3 separate regions of the Homo sapiens genome follow, and all the other regions are linked to region 3. Evidence: promoter capture Hi-C in 16 types of primary human blood cells and fetal thymus (Javierre and others, 2016). All regions are on one chromosome and are shown on one strand. The core of a region is centred on a gene start or on the middle of the fragment in contact, and the rest is flanking DNA. Distances in the headings are between cores, read along the strand shown.

Region 1 (3,633 bases), core at 148-2,647, 230 kb before region 3:
TAGGACTGCTACCAAAATATGGCAGTCCTGCCTTCCAGGGCTAGGTCTCATTGGTACTTGGGGTGCAGGGGTGTAGTGGGAACCTGCCAGGAGAAATTCCTCTGGGATCTTGGGGGCTTGAGGGCTTAAATGAAGGGTGGCACCCAAATCCCCAATCAATGCCTGTTCAATCAACAAACATCTAACAGGACATTATGTGGTAGGCATATTGCCAGGCCGTGGAGATGCGAATATAAATAGGAACCGGCCCCTCATCTGCAGGCGCTCACAACCTAGTTAGGAAACAGTAAAACAATTAAGCGCGCCGTGGAGATAGGCCCACTTGTCCTGGGAAATGAGGGGAAGCTGGGGTTTGCAGTGGTTTGATTGAAGGGGGACTACATGTTAGAGGCACAGACTGGGTGCAGGTACACCCAAAGGAACGAGAAGAGTGGAAGGAAACAACATCCACAAAGTAACCACATGCTGGCGTATCGAAGGCCGTGATTTACGGTTTTGAGACTTTACCTCGCCAGCAAAGGGGGGCCAGTCTGTTAGCGGTGCAGATTGGAGGGGTGACATTGGAAGCTGTCCAGGAAAAAGAAAATGGAACTGGGGAGCAGAAGGCCTACGCAAGAGGGCGGGACAGACAGGACTTGTGACTAGTAGCTCTGGACTGAGGAATCCTCCCTGCTTTCTGGTGCGGGAGAGCTAGTGGATGATGGTGCCAATAACCTGGATGGGGAAAGTAAGCTCCCTCCTGGAATGCTTCATTCACAACCTCCATTTTCAGCAACATCCCATCTACTGGTGCTTCCTGGTCGAGATACAAGTTTCCTGAAACTGCTGCTCTGTTTTGGGCCTCACCCGGCCAACAGCTCACTAGCTGGCAAGCAGTAGTATCAAGATGGCGGCCCCCTAGGACTGGCTAGTCATGTGACCTCGGGTTTCCCAAGTTTGAAGCCCGGCAGTCCTTTCGGGGGCAAGGTTCACCTGTCACGAAACGAGTGTCACCCCTTCGACTCTCGCAAGCCAATCGGCATCTGAGACTGGGCCACTGCGGTGAGGCGATCGGAAGATTGGTCCTTTCCAGTCGCCTAGCTAGGGCCAATCACGGAGCGTCCCATACTTCGCGGGCCCGCCCGTAGGCCGGGGAGAAGCAGGAATATCGTCACAGCGTGGCGGTATTATTACCTAAGGACTCGATAGGAGGTGGGACGCGTGTTGATTGACAGGCAGATTTCCCCTACCGGGATTTGAGAATTTGGCGCAGTGCCCCGCCTTAGAGGTGGGGCCTTATTTGATTGCCAAGTAATATTCCCCAATGGAGTACTAGCTCATGGTGACGGGCAGGCAGCTTGACTAATGAGTCCTCGGCGTGGCCGGCGCAGCTCTCCAATCGCCGGGCGGCGGGCCCCAGTCTGAGCGGCGATGGCGGCGGCGGCGGCGGCGGCAGCAGCAGCGGGGGCTGCGGGCGGTCGGGGCTCCGGGCCGGGGCGGCGGCGCCATCTTGTGCCCGGGGCCGGTGGGGAGGCCGGGGAGGGGGCCCCGGGGGGCGCAGGGGACTACGGGAACGGCCTGGAGTCTGAGGAACTGGAGCCTGAGGAGCTGCTGCTGGAGCCCGAGCCGGAGCCCGAGCCCGAAGAGGAGCCGCCCCGGCCCCGCGCCCCCCCGGGAGCTCCGGGCCCTGGGCCTGGTTCGGGAGCCCCCGGCAGCCAAGAGGAGGAGGAGGAGCCGGGACTGGTCGAGGGTGACCCGGGGGACGGCGCCATTGAGGACCCGGTGAGGGAAGGAGGGCGAGCGAGCAGGCCGGCGGCTGGCCGGCCGGGTCACTGGAGGCCCAGAGCTCGGGCGAGCGGGTGGCAGGCGGGGGGTGGGGTTGGGCGGGGAATAACGTGGCTGGGGCCGGGTCGGGCCGGGGATGGGTCAGCGATCACTACAAGGGGCCCGACTGGCTTGATTCGGGCGTCACGGTTGCCTAGTGTTGTTCTAGAGAGGGTAGCTTTTCTTTTATCACGACCCTCGCATGGGGCGAGGGAAATGGCCGAGCATGGCTGAGGCCGCGCTCTGGCCGAGAGCAGGGCACAGCCCCTGCGTTGGTTCCTCTTAAGCTGTCCTCCATACCCTCCCCACTTATATTAGGAGCTGGAAGCTATCAAAGCTCGAGTCAGGGAGATGGAGGAAGAAGCTGAGAAGCTAAAGGAGCTACAGAACGAGGTAGAGAAGCAGATGAATATGAGTCCACCTCCAGGCAATGGTGAGTAACTGGCGGTTGCACGCGGAGCCCGGGTTCTCGGGTTGGAAGGGTTGTGGGGAGGATGGGGAATGTGGGGTTAGATACTCGGCACCCTGGAGCTGCTTGTCTGAGCTATTATGACTGTGCCGCGGTCATAGTCCGTTGTGTGTTCCTCTGACCTTTGTGAGGCAGAACGTATATTTTGGTGGTGGTAGCCTTGTGCCTCCCTTTGTGCCTGTTATAATTGTGTTGCTCTTTGTTCTTAGTCTACGTCTATCTTTCTTTGTAGAGGTTGCGTGCTCGCATTTGACCTTCAAATCTAATAGTTTTTCCTCCAATTGGAGACGCTTTAGGATTCTAAGAGAAAGCAAGCTGCAAGGGGTTTCCCCTTTAATCTAGAAATGTGGAGTCTCAGCCCACTTAATTTTGCTCACTCTTAAAAGCATTTCAACCAAAGCCATTCATTAGGGATTTGATTTGGAGGCAGGAGGGATTCCTATACTGTTTTAAGTGTGTATTAATTCTTTCAATTTATTGAATATTTAGTGAGTACCTGCTATGCACTAGGCACTATTCTCGGTTGTGGGTACAGCAGGGAACAGCACAGACCAAAATCTTTGCCTTCACTGAGCTTATGGGATAGTGCTGGTGGTGGAAGTGCAACATATTGGTCAAGTAGAAAACAAGTGTGTGGTTTTTGTAAAAAATTATTTTTTCCTGATAGCTGGCCCGGTGATCATGTCCATTGAGGAGAAGATGGAGGCTGATGCCCGTTCCATCTATGTTGGCAATGTACGTACTGGGGCTCTGACTGGGGTTGGGGGCAAGTTCTTCTTTTGGGGAATTATTTAATAGTCCTGAAAGGAACATCTCCGGGATAGATGTGGTTTTGGGTGTGGAGGGAGTGTGGGAAGGAGGTTAAAGGTAATGGAATGATCAGTAATCAGCAAAGGCTCTGGGTTTGGAAGGAAAAGAGATTAATTCCTCAAATTACCAGATTTCATGTGCTTTGGTGTATGATGGCCCAGACCAAAGGCTCGGGAGGGTTCCTTTTGAGACAGGAATTTGCCTGGTGCCTGTGAAATTTTTCTCCTCTCATCAGGTGGACTATGGTGCAACAGCAGAAGAGCTGGAAGCTCACTTTCATGGCTGTGGTTCAGTCAACCGTGTTACCATACTGTGTGACAAATTTAGTGGCCATCCCAAAGGGTAAGTAAAGGGGAGTAAGTTGAGATAATTTAAATTACAGTGTACAAATAGATAAATTATGTTTTATATTGAGCAGTAAGTTATTTGGTGTTAACACAGGTGATCTGTGTCATTTAAGATCATGGCATTAATGTTGATATATCAGGAGTTGCACCTAAATGTCTTCAGAGGCCAGATAACAAAAATGAAGGCTAGATGTGGGTGGGATT
Region 2 (3,910 bases), core at 1,072-3,571, 210 kb before region 3:
CATCCCGGCCAACATGGTGAAACCCCGTCTCTACTAAAAATACAAAAATCAGCTGGGCATGGTGGCGCGCACCTGTAGTCCCAGCTACTCGGGAGCCTGAGGCAGGAGAATTGCTTGAATCCGGGAGGCGGAGGTTGCGGTGAGCCGAGATTGCACCACTGCACTCCAGCCTGCCAATAGAGCGAGACTCCGTCTCAAAAAAAAAAAAAAAAAAAAAAAAAAAAAAAAAGAAAGAAACATTTACAATCTATTCTCTCTGAAGCCTTCATCTTCATGATAAAACCTAGGTCTCCAAAACCCCTTATCTTACTCCAAACATTCCTTTCTACTGATAATTACTCTTTCAACCAATTGCCAATCAGAATGAATATGTTTAAATCTAACTATGGCCTGGAAGCCCCCGGCCCCGCCTTTGAGTTATCACACCCTTCCAGATCTAACCATTCTAAGTCTTATGCGTACTGATTGATGTATTATGTCTCCTTAAAATGTATAAAGCAAGCTGTACTTCGACCACTTTGGGCACGTGTCCTCAGGACCTCCTGAGGCTGTATCATGGGTGCATCCTTAACCCTGGCAAAATAAGCTTTCTGAATTGATTGAGACTTGTCTCAGATAATTTTTGGTTTACAAATTGGTGCCCATGAAGGGACTCTGAGTGGATGTAGCCCTGACCTTTGACAAATCTCCTATCGGTGCTCGGCACCAGCTTGAGCTATGTTTATGGCTCAAATCAACAGGACAATTTGCTGAGGCTTGGGAACTCCCCTTTCTCCAGAGAACCCCTGATCTCTCAAAATTTGGTTGAGATCTAAAGTTTATTTTGCTCTACGATTCCTTTTCTGGAGTTATACTTGCTTCCAACAAGGAAGGCAAGTTTTCCTGCTCCCATGATGTTGGAAGGCAGGTAACAGGTAACTCCTTTTTGGAGTTTTAGCTAATATCTAACAGGGAAGGCAAGTTTGAGTTTCTTCCTGCTTCTAGGAGGGTAGAGAGTAGTCTTCAACCTGAGACCCATTTTTAGGTAAGAAGCTGATTTGGTTTTCTTGCTTGCTTGCTTGCTTTTTTTTTGTCTTGAAAATTCTCCATAATGACTAAAGGTTAAAGTTGACAACCAGCTGGTCTTAATTTCTCCTTACCATTAGAGCGCTAAGTGATCATATTGTTGGTTTTTTTTGTTGTTGTCCCTTTCTCCCATTGGATTTGACTAACTCTACCTGTCTTGGTCAAATCCTAATGAGAATTCCAAATTATGGGGAACAAGGCCTCTGAATAAGTTAAAATTTCTCACAGCTGTAAAAAGAAAAAAAGAAACCATGGGCTTAGTTTCTGTGTTCGCTGTCTTAATTTTCATCCATCCTATTCCTCCTTCCCCTTTGCCATCTTCAGTACCAAGAAAAAATCTAGAGAAGGCTTCTAATGACTTGAATTCCTCAAATAACTCAAAACAAAGGTGCCACTCATCCCTTTTGGAGTGTTCTGTTTTCTTTTTGAAGTTTCAAGAGTTATAGGCAGATTCTTCTTCGGTCTAAAGTTCTGCTCTCCTGTATTGCATTACCTGATCTCTTTGGCTTTGGGGGATACCAAAGATTACTTTGCGCTGTGTGAGGATTTTACCTTGGTGTGTGTAATGGCGGACAAGTGCTACAAAGTTAGGGGTGGCTAAGAACAGTTTACAGAGAGTGGTCTTAGATTTTTTTTTTTCCTCCTGGGAAGATATTTAGGACCCTAATTCTAGTTTGGAGGTACATTTTAAATAGTGTCTTGTCCGGCTGGGTGCGGTGACTCATGCCTGTAATCCCAACACTTTGGGAGGCCGAGGTGGGTGGATCACGAGGTCAAGAGATCGAGACCATCCTGGCCAACACGGTGAAACCCCGTCTCTACTAAAAATACAAAAATTAGCTGGGCATGGTAGAGTGCACCTGTAGTCCCAGCTACTTGGGAGCCTGAGGCAGGAGAATTGCTTGAACCCAGGAGGCGGAGGTTGCAGTGAGCCGAGATTGTGCCATTGCACTCCAGCCTGGTGACAGTGACACTCTGTCTCAAAAAAAAAAAAAAGTGTCTTTTTCATTGCCTTTCCTCTTGAAATTAGTCTTGATTGGCTGCTCTGTGCATTTGTGGGAGGAAGTGAACTGTCTTTTTCATAGATAAATGAGAGACTGAGTTTCCACAGCTCCAAAGAGAAAGAGCATTTTGCTCTTCCCAGTCAAAAGGTGCCCCTGAGTGCCAGGGGGCTAAGTGGGAATGTTGGGGGGTTGAGCCCCCATGATGTGCAGTGGCCCTACAGGGAACTCCAAACAAAATTAGTTTAAAAAGGCTCATCCAGGAAGCACATATAGGAGCTGGTCACCCCATGCTATCAGCCCTCCCGGAGATGCTAGACCTCCAGAGTAAGAAACTGAGACACACTGTGTGTGACACACTGTGGAGTCCCACCCACAACCAGCACACTTTTCCCCACTCCACCAAACTCTAGGCCACAGCTTAGTTCCTCCTTTTAAGAAAAAATGTGGGAAATGAATTATCTAGGAATGAGGACAGACAAGGAGAATGACCCTTCTCAGGCACCCTGTTTGGTTTTATGACCCTCTACTTGCAAGTGGTTGTGTAAATGGAATGGCACACCAGGTTTTCTAATACTCCGGCTGGTTACACATCGGGTCTGCTCTTGTGCACATTTTAAACTGATGGGCAAATCACCTCAAAGAGAATTCAGAGCCTGAAGGTCAATCTGCAACTATAAACTTCCGAAGTTCTCTATTTCTTTGCTTTCTTTTCTGTCTGCTTTAAGTCTGCTGTTACTTTTCTACTGAGATAAAATCCACTGTTTGTATCCAACCATTTCTTTTGTTATTGTTTTTGCAAACCAATGAGTTTGTATTAATATCTCATGGCTAACATTCTGAAGTAAAAGCTATAGGATCTTTGGTTGTATGAGTGTGTATGTGTGTTTATGTGTACATACATGGATTCTGTTGTGTTTTGGGTCACAAGGTAACAAATTGGCTACCAATTATAGATTATCCATAAATTAAATAATAAGCCCAAATGCATTTCAAGTTTACATGACTTAAGTAAAATCTTTAATAAGCTAGCTTTAAGATTGTTGGTAAAGTAATATTTGAAATGTCTTAAGACTTGTCAGCATACATTTTTGTTTGCATTTATTGATCAAGTGATTTCATACTTATCTCTGCTGAATACTATAAGGTGTCAAAATTTGGCATAAGGGTTATAAAACTATAAACCCAGCAAAAAATGTAATGATTTTTGTTTGTGTCATTTTTAATAAAAAAGACATTAATATTGTTGATTTAATGAAAACAGCTAAATCTTGAATTATTGGTAAAATAATCATATATTTAATCTTAAGGTACTTACTTAGGTAATCACCTAAAATTCACAAGCTGTAAAAATGGTTGACAGGGAAATAACTTTAAATAATGACTATCACAATTTTCATAAATAATCTAGTTTCTCTCTCTGGAGGTCTATTTTCACATTGCTATAAAGAACTATCCAAGATTAGGTAATCTATAAAGGAGAGAGGTCCATTGATTTACAGTTTAGCATGGCTGGGGAGGCCTCAGGAAACTTACAATCATGGCAGAAGGCAAAGAGGAAGCAAGGCACCTTCTTCATAAGGCAGCAGGAAGGAGAATGAATGCAGGAGGAACTACCAAATACATAAAACTATCAGATCTCATGAGAACTCACTCACTATCATGAGAACAGCATGGGGTAAACCACTCCCATAAGTCAATTACCTCCACCTGGTCTCTCTCTTGACACATGGGGATTATAGGGATTATAATTCAAGACGAGATTTGGGTGGGGACACAAGCCTAACCATATCACTAGGTAAACTATTAAAATAATTAGGTAAATGTAATAGAAACTTGTAAAC
Region 3 (3,932 bases), core at 1,429-3,928:
AATTTCATAGTGCTTTTTCTGTTGACCTCCACTTTAGGAATATTCTATCATTTCTCTTCCTTTTACCTTCTGTATTGCTATCAACACGTTTTGTTTCATTCTTCCAATTTCTTATTAATCACCCCTTGGTTCCTCCCCTGCCCCCGAGTCCGCATAGATTTTCCTCCCTTCCTTTGCACATCCCTCACGTCATACATTTCTCTACCCCATGTGTTTATTGCACCGACCACCCCTTTCTTTCTTTAATTCTGTTCACCTCTGAAATCGTCCATCTTCTGCCCATGTCTGCCTGCTCCTTTTACCTTTCCAAGCTCCTGAGGTTTGGAAAAACAATGATGGGCTAAAAACTAAGGTAAACTCTCCAGATCCTTTATCCACCCTTACTGTTCTTCAGGCTAAATGAACTTGGCTCCTTACATACGATAGCTTTTATTACACTAATAAACACTGCCTCATTAAAAAAAAATGGTGCTGGATCTAAATATGATAGTAGCAGGGGCCTAGGAAGAAGATGAACTAAAAAGTGAAGAAAAAGCAACTGATATCTAGAATGAACTGAAGGATGGGGGGCAACCAGGCAGGGTGGAGCTTAGAGTCCTAGGGAATGTCCCCTTACAAAATCAAAGTTGACAGTTAACTGACATAATGGCACTGACTGATGGAGGGGTTATATGCCCCTGGAAGCTCATTAAATTTATTTCTTGGCCTGTTTATGTGCCTTCACAAACCATACCCCACACCTCTCCCAGCCCTTTGCTTGCTGGTACTTTCTGCTGCTGGGGTTAAAATGCTGGATAAGAGGAAAAGGGATAAAAGAAACTAGAAACTTAGGGTGATCAAGAAGAAAAGGTAGGAAGAGGGCAGATTATGGGAACAAAGGTGGAAACTCAGAGCTCATGGGAAACAGATGGAAAAAAGGGGTGAAGCAAAATGGGGAAATAAAAAATATACAATGATACAGTGGGGGAAGGGAGTAAAATTAAGTCAGCAGGGAAGAGGTTTTGTTGTGCGAAGCTCCTGGAAAGGCAGATGACACGCATGAGACCAGAAGGTGAGGTTCTGATGAGGGAGACAGGCACATGGCAAAGGGGACAGTCAACAATGCTAGGAAGTTCCAAAGCTTCTCTGGTGATGGTGGAAGAGGAGGCTGTCCTGGCCATGCTGAAGGCACTAGAGGCTTTGGCGAAGACACATTTGCTCCATCATCCCACTCCTCCAGGCCCTGACTGTGACCACCACAATCATGACTGATAAGCAAATTCCAAAGTAGCCTGAAAAGGCCAGAGATATCCAGACAGACTCTGAAGGAGAGGGCATGGAATCCTAGACCGACAGAACAGGCAGCCAAGGCGTGACACATAGTGATAGAGACACACAAGGAGAGGATCACTCAGATGGGAAGGGTCACAAGTGGAGACAGTGACATACAGATCCAGAGATGGATGGGATGGAAGAGACAAGATGAAGAACAGCAAAACCAAAAGTCAGGGACACATGGACAGAGATCAGCGGGGCTACAGGCACAGCGAGGAAGCGTGGTCCTGTGCTTGAAAATGATAGGGCTGCTCAGAGGGGCAGACGAGCGGATGGGGGTGGTAGGATGGGCGTGCAGGACAGACACGCTTCACCTTGAATGGGCTTATGGCCTCCCCTCACCTACTCAACACTTTCAAAAAAAGGAATGGAAAGCCCAACTTCAGCCAAAAACGAACGAAGACTGAGAGTATCCACGTCCCCTCCCACTCCACGCCCCAGCGCGCTAGCCCATCCATCAGCCCGCCGGCCGCGGTTCTCCCATCCCACAGCCGGCGGGGGGCCGCCGAGACCCAGGACCCTCCAGGCTGACAGCTCTGAGCCCTCACACTCACCGGGCCTCCCCTTCCCCCCGGGATCCCCGCTCCCTGCCCAACTCGGCGCGGTCCGTCTAGGCTTTCCATACCCTTCGTCTGTCCGGCGGGCCTCTGCCTTTCCCGTTCCCGTTTCTCCCTCCACCCCCGCATCTCTCTTCCCCCATCCTCGCGCACGCCCTCTTCCTCCCACACCCCTGTCTGCTATCTCCCAGGGCTCTCGGTCTGTCTGTCCGTCCGTCCTTGTCCCCTCCCCCAGCCCCTTCCCGTCCCTCTCCGTCCCCTCCAGCGGCAGTCTCCAAGCGCCTCCTCTCCCGTCTCGAGCTTCCAAAGAGCAAGGAAGGGAAGAAGAGAGAGAGGGAGAGGAGAAAAAAACCAACCCAGCAGCATCGGAAATCGATGCACTTACACCTCAGCTGGAAGCAGGGACGGGAGTCGAACCGCGGCCACCGAGCAGCGCGAGGCGGGGAGGGGAGGGGGCGGCTCTTGGAAGGGACTTCTCCGATGTGTTGATTCCTCTTTTTTCCCCTCCTCCTCCCTCCCTCCAGCGCTCGCTCCGGGGCGTCAGGGACGGAGACGGAAAAAAATAAATAAATAAATTCACGGCGGTGAGGGAAGTGAAGGAAAATAATCAATGCTATTTGGCTGCGGCTGAAGTGTTTCCCCGGCTTCGTGAGGGGGTTTCCATTGATTCACCCTGGGCACTCGCTCGCTCCCTGCCTCCTCCTCCTCCTCCTCCTTCTCCTCCTCGCCCTCCTCCTCCTCCTCCTCCTCGCCCTCACTCCTCCGCCTCATTCACTGGCTGGAGTCTAGGCGTCCCACACAATGGAATAATCAATACCCAGGCGCCCGGGGCTGCCCCACTGAGCAGGTGCAGCGACCCGCCCGCCGCGGCGCATGCCGGGAGTTGTAGTCTGTTCGCGCCCGCCCGCCTGCCTCGCGGGACCCAGGGCCGGGGGCAGGCCGGCCAGCCCACCAGGTCGCCTCCAGGTTCAAGCCGGTGCCTGCAAAGAGGGCAGGCCCCTTTAAACTCTTTTCCGTCTCCTCTCCTCTTCATCCTGTGGCCTGCAGAAACCATACATGTGTTTTGTTGTTTTGTTTTAAATCAGCTTCAGAACAAGCCCTGAGCCGCCCAAGGCCTCCTTTTTTCATTCTCTTCTTCCTGCCTTATTATTCCGCCTCCCCCATCTCCCCCCGCGAAATTGGGTACTAGAACCTTCTCTACCGCAGCAATTACTCTTTAGTCTCTGAGAGCTTCTGCCTCCTCCACACGGTTACATAGTCCCCTGAGCTGGGTTGGGGGAGGTTCGGGCTCCTCCTCATCTTCAGTTTATCGCTTATTAAGTGCTCCTGAATTTTTTTTTTTTTTTTTTTTCTGGAGACGGAGTCTCACTCAGTCGCCCAGGTTGGAGTGCAGTGGTGCGATCTCGGCTCACTGCAACCTCCACCACCGGGTTCAAGCGATTCTCCTACCTCAGCCTCCTAAGTAGCTGGGATTACAGGCATGCATCAACACACCCAGCTAATTTTTGTATTTTTAGTAGAGACGGGGTTTCACCACGTTGGTCAAGCTGGTCTCGAACTCCTGACCTTGTGATCCGCCTGCCTCGGCCTCCCAAAGTGCTGGGATTACAGGTGTGAACCACCACCGCGCCCAGCCCGTTTTTTTGTTTGTTTGTTTTTTTCTTGAGACAGAGTCACTCTGTCGCCCAGGCTGCAGTGCAGTGGCATGATCCCGGCTCACTGCAACCTTCACCTCCCAGGTTCAAGTGATTCTCCTGCCTCAGCCTCCCAAGTAGCTGGGATTGTAGGTGCCCACCACCATGCCCTGCTAATTTTGTATTTTTAGTAGAGACGGGGGTTTCACCATCTTAGCCAGGCTGGTCTCGAACTCCTGACCTCAGGTGATCCACCGGCCTCAGCCTCCCAAAGTCCTGGGATTATAGGGGTGATCCACCTCACCCGGCCGCTCCTGTATTCTAATAATAATTTTTAAGATTTCTTGAATGCACAGGGACAGTTCCAAGCACTTTTACATACATTGTTTACTCCTCTCAATACCTCAAGCATGAGGTAGATGCTATT

What was found. The method cuts DNA at HindIII sites, captures the fragments that hold promoters and counts their contacts. A CHiCAGO score of 5 or more calls a contact.
Region 1: the fragment with the promoter of PABPN1 here is called in contact with the fragment with the promoter of ZFHX2 in region 3 in 9 of 17 cell types (megakaryocytes, erythroblasts, activated CD4 T cells and 6 more); the score reaches 11.1 in megakaryocytes.
Region 2: a contact is called between a fragment that was not itself captured here and the fragment with the promoter of ZFHX2 in region 3, in 1 of 17 cell types (megakaryocytes). The highest score is 7.2, in megakaryocytes.

Annotation. Positions count from the first base shown.
Region 1 is chr14:23,320,060-23,323,692 of GRCh38, forward strand. PABPN1 (poly(A) binding protein nuclear 1) reads left to right here and starts at 1,398. Exons shown (of 7, transcript NM_004643.4): 1 at 1,398-1,761; 2 at 2,122-2,236; 3 at 2,940-3,007; 4 at 3,318-3,424. The coding sequence starts at 1,411. It overlaps BCL2L2-PABPN1 (BCL2L2-PABPN1 readthrough), which reads left to right. Exons shown (of 8, transcript NM_001387346.1): 4 at 2,122-2,236; 5 at 2,940-3,007; 6 at 3,318-3,424. RefSeq lists enhancers at 489-1,139, 828-897, 1,151-1,962, 1,963-2,772 and silencers at 1,298-1,727, 1,788-1,857. The HindIII fragment of the contact is 8,249 bases long and covers 1-3,633 here.
Region 2 is chr14:23,335,382-23,339,291 of GRCh38, forward strand. No RefSeq gene overlaps it. Among named protein-coding and RNA genes, the nearest start is that of SLC22A17, 16 kb to the right of the region's middle. The HindIII fragment of the contact is 3,474 bases long and covers 585-3,910 here.
Region 3 is chr14:23,549,087-23,553,018 of GRCh38, forward strand. It overlaps ZFHX2 (zinc finger homeobox 2), which reads right to left and starts at 2,679. Exons shown (of 10, transcript NM_033400.3): 1 at 2,257-2,679. It also overlaps a transcript of THTPA not described here. RefSeq lists enhancers at 1,471-2,133, 2,983-3,032 and a silencer at 2,613-2,852. The HindIII fragment of the contact is 16,619 bases long and covers 1,119-3,932 here.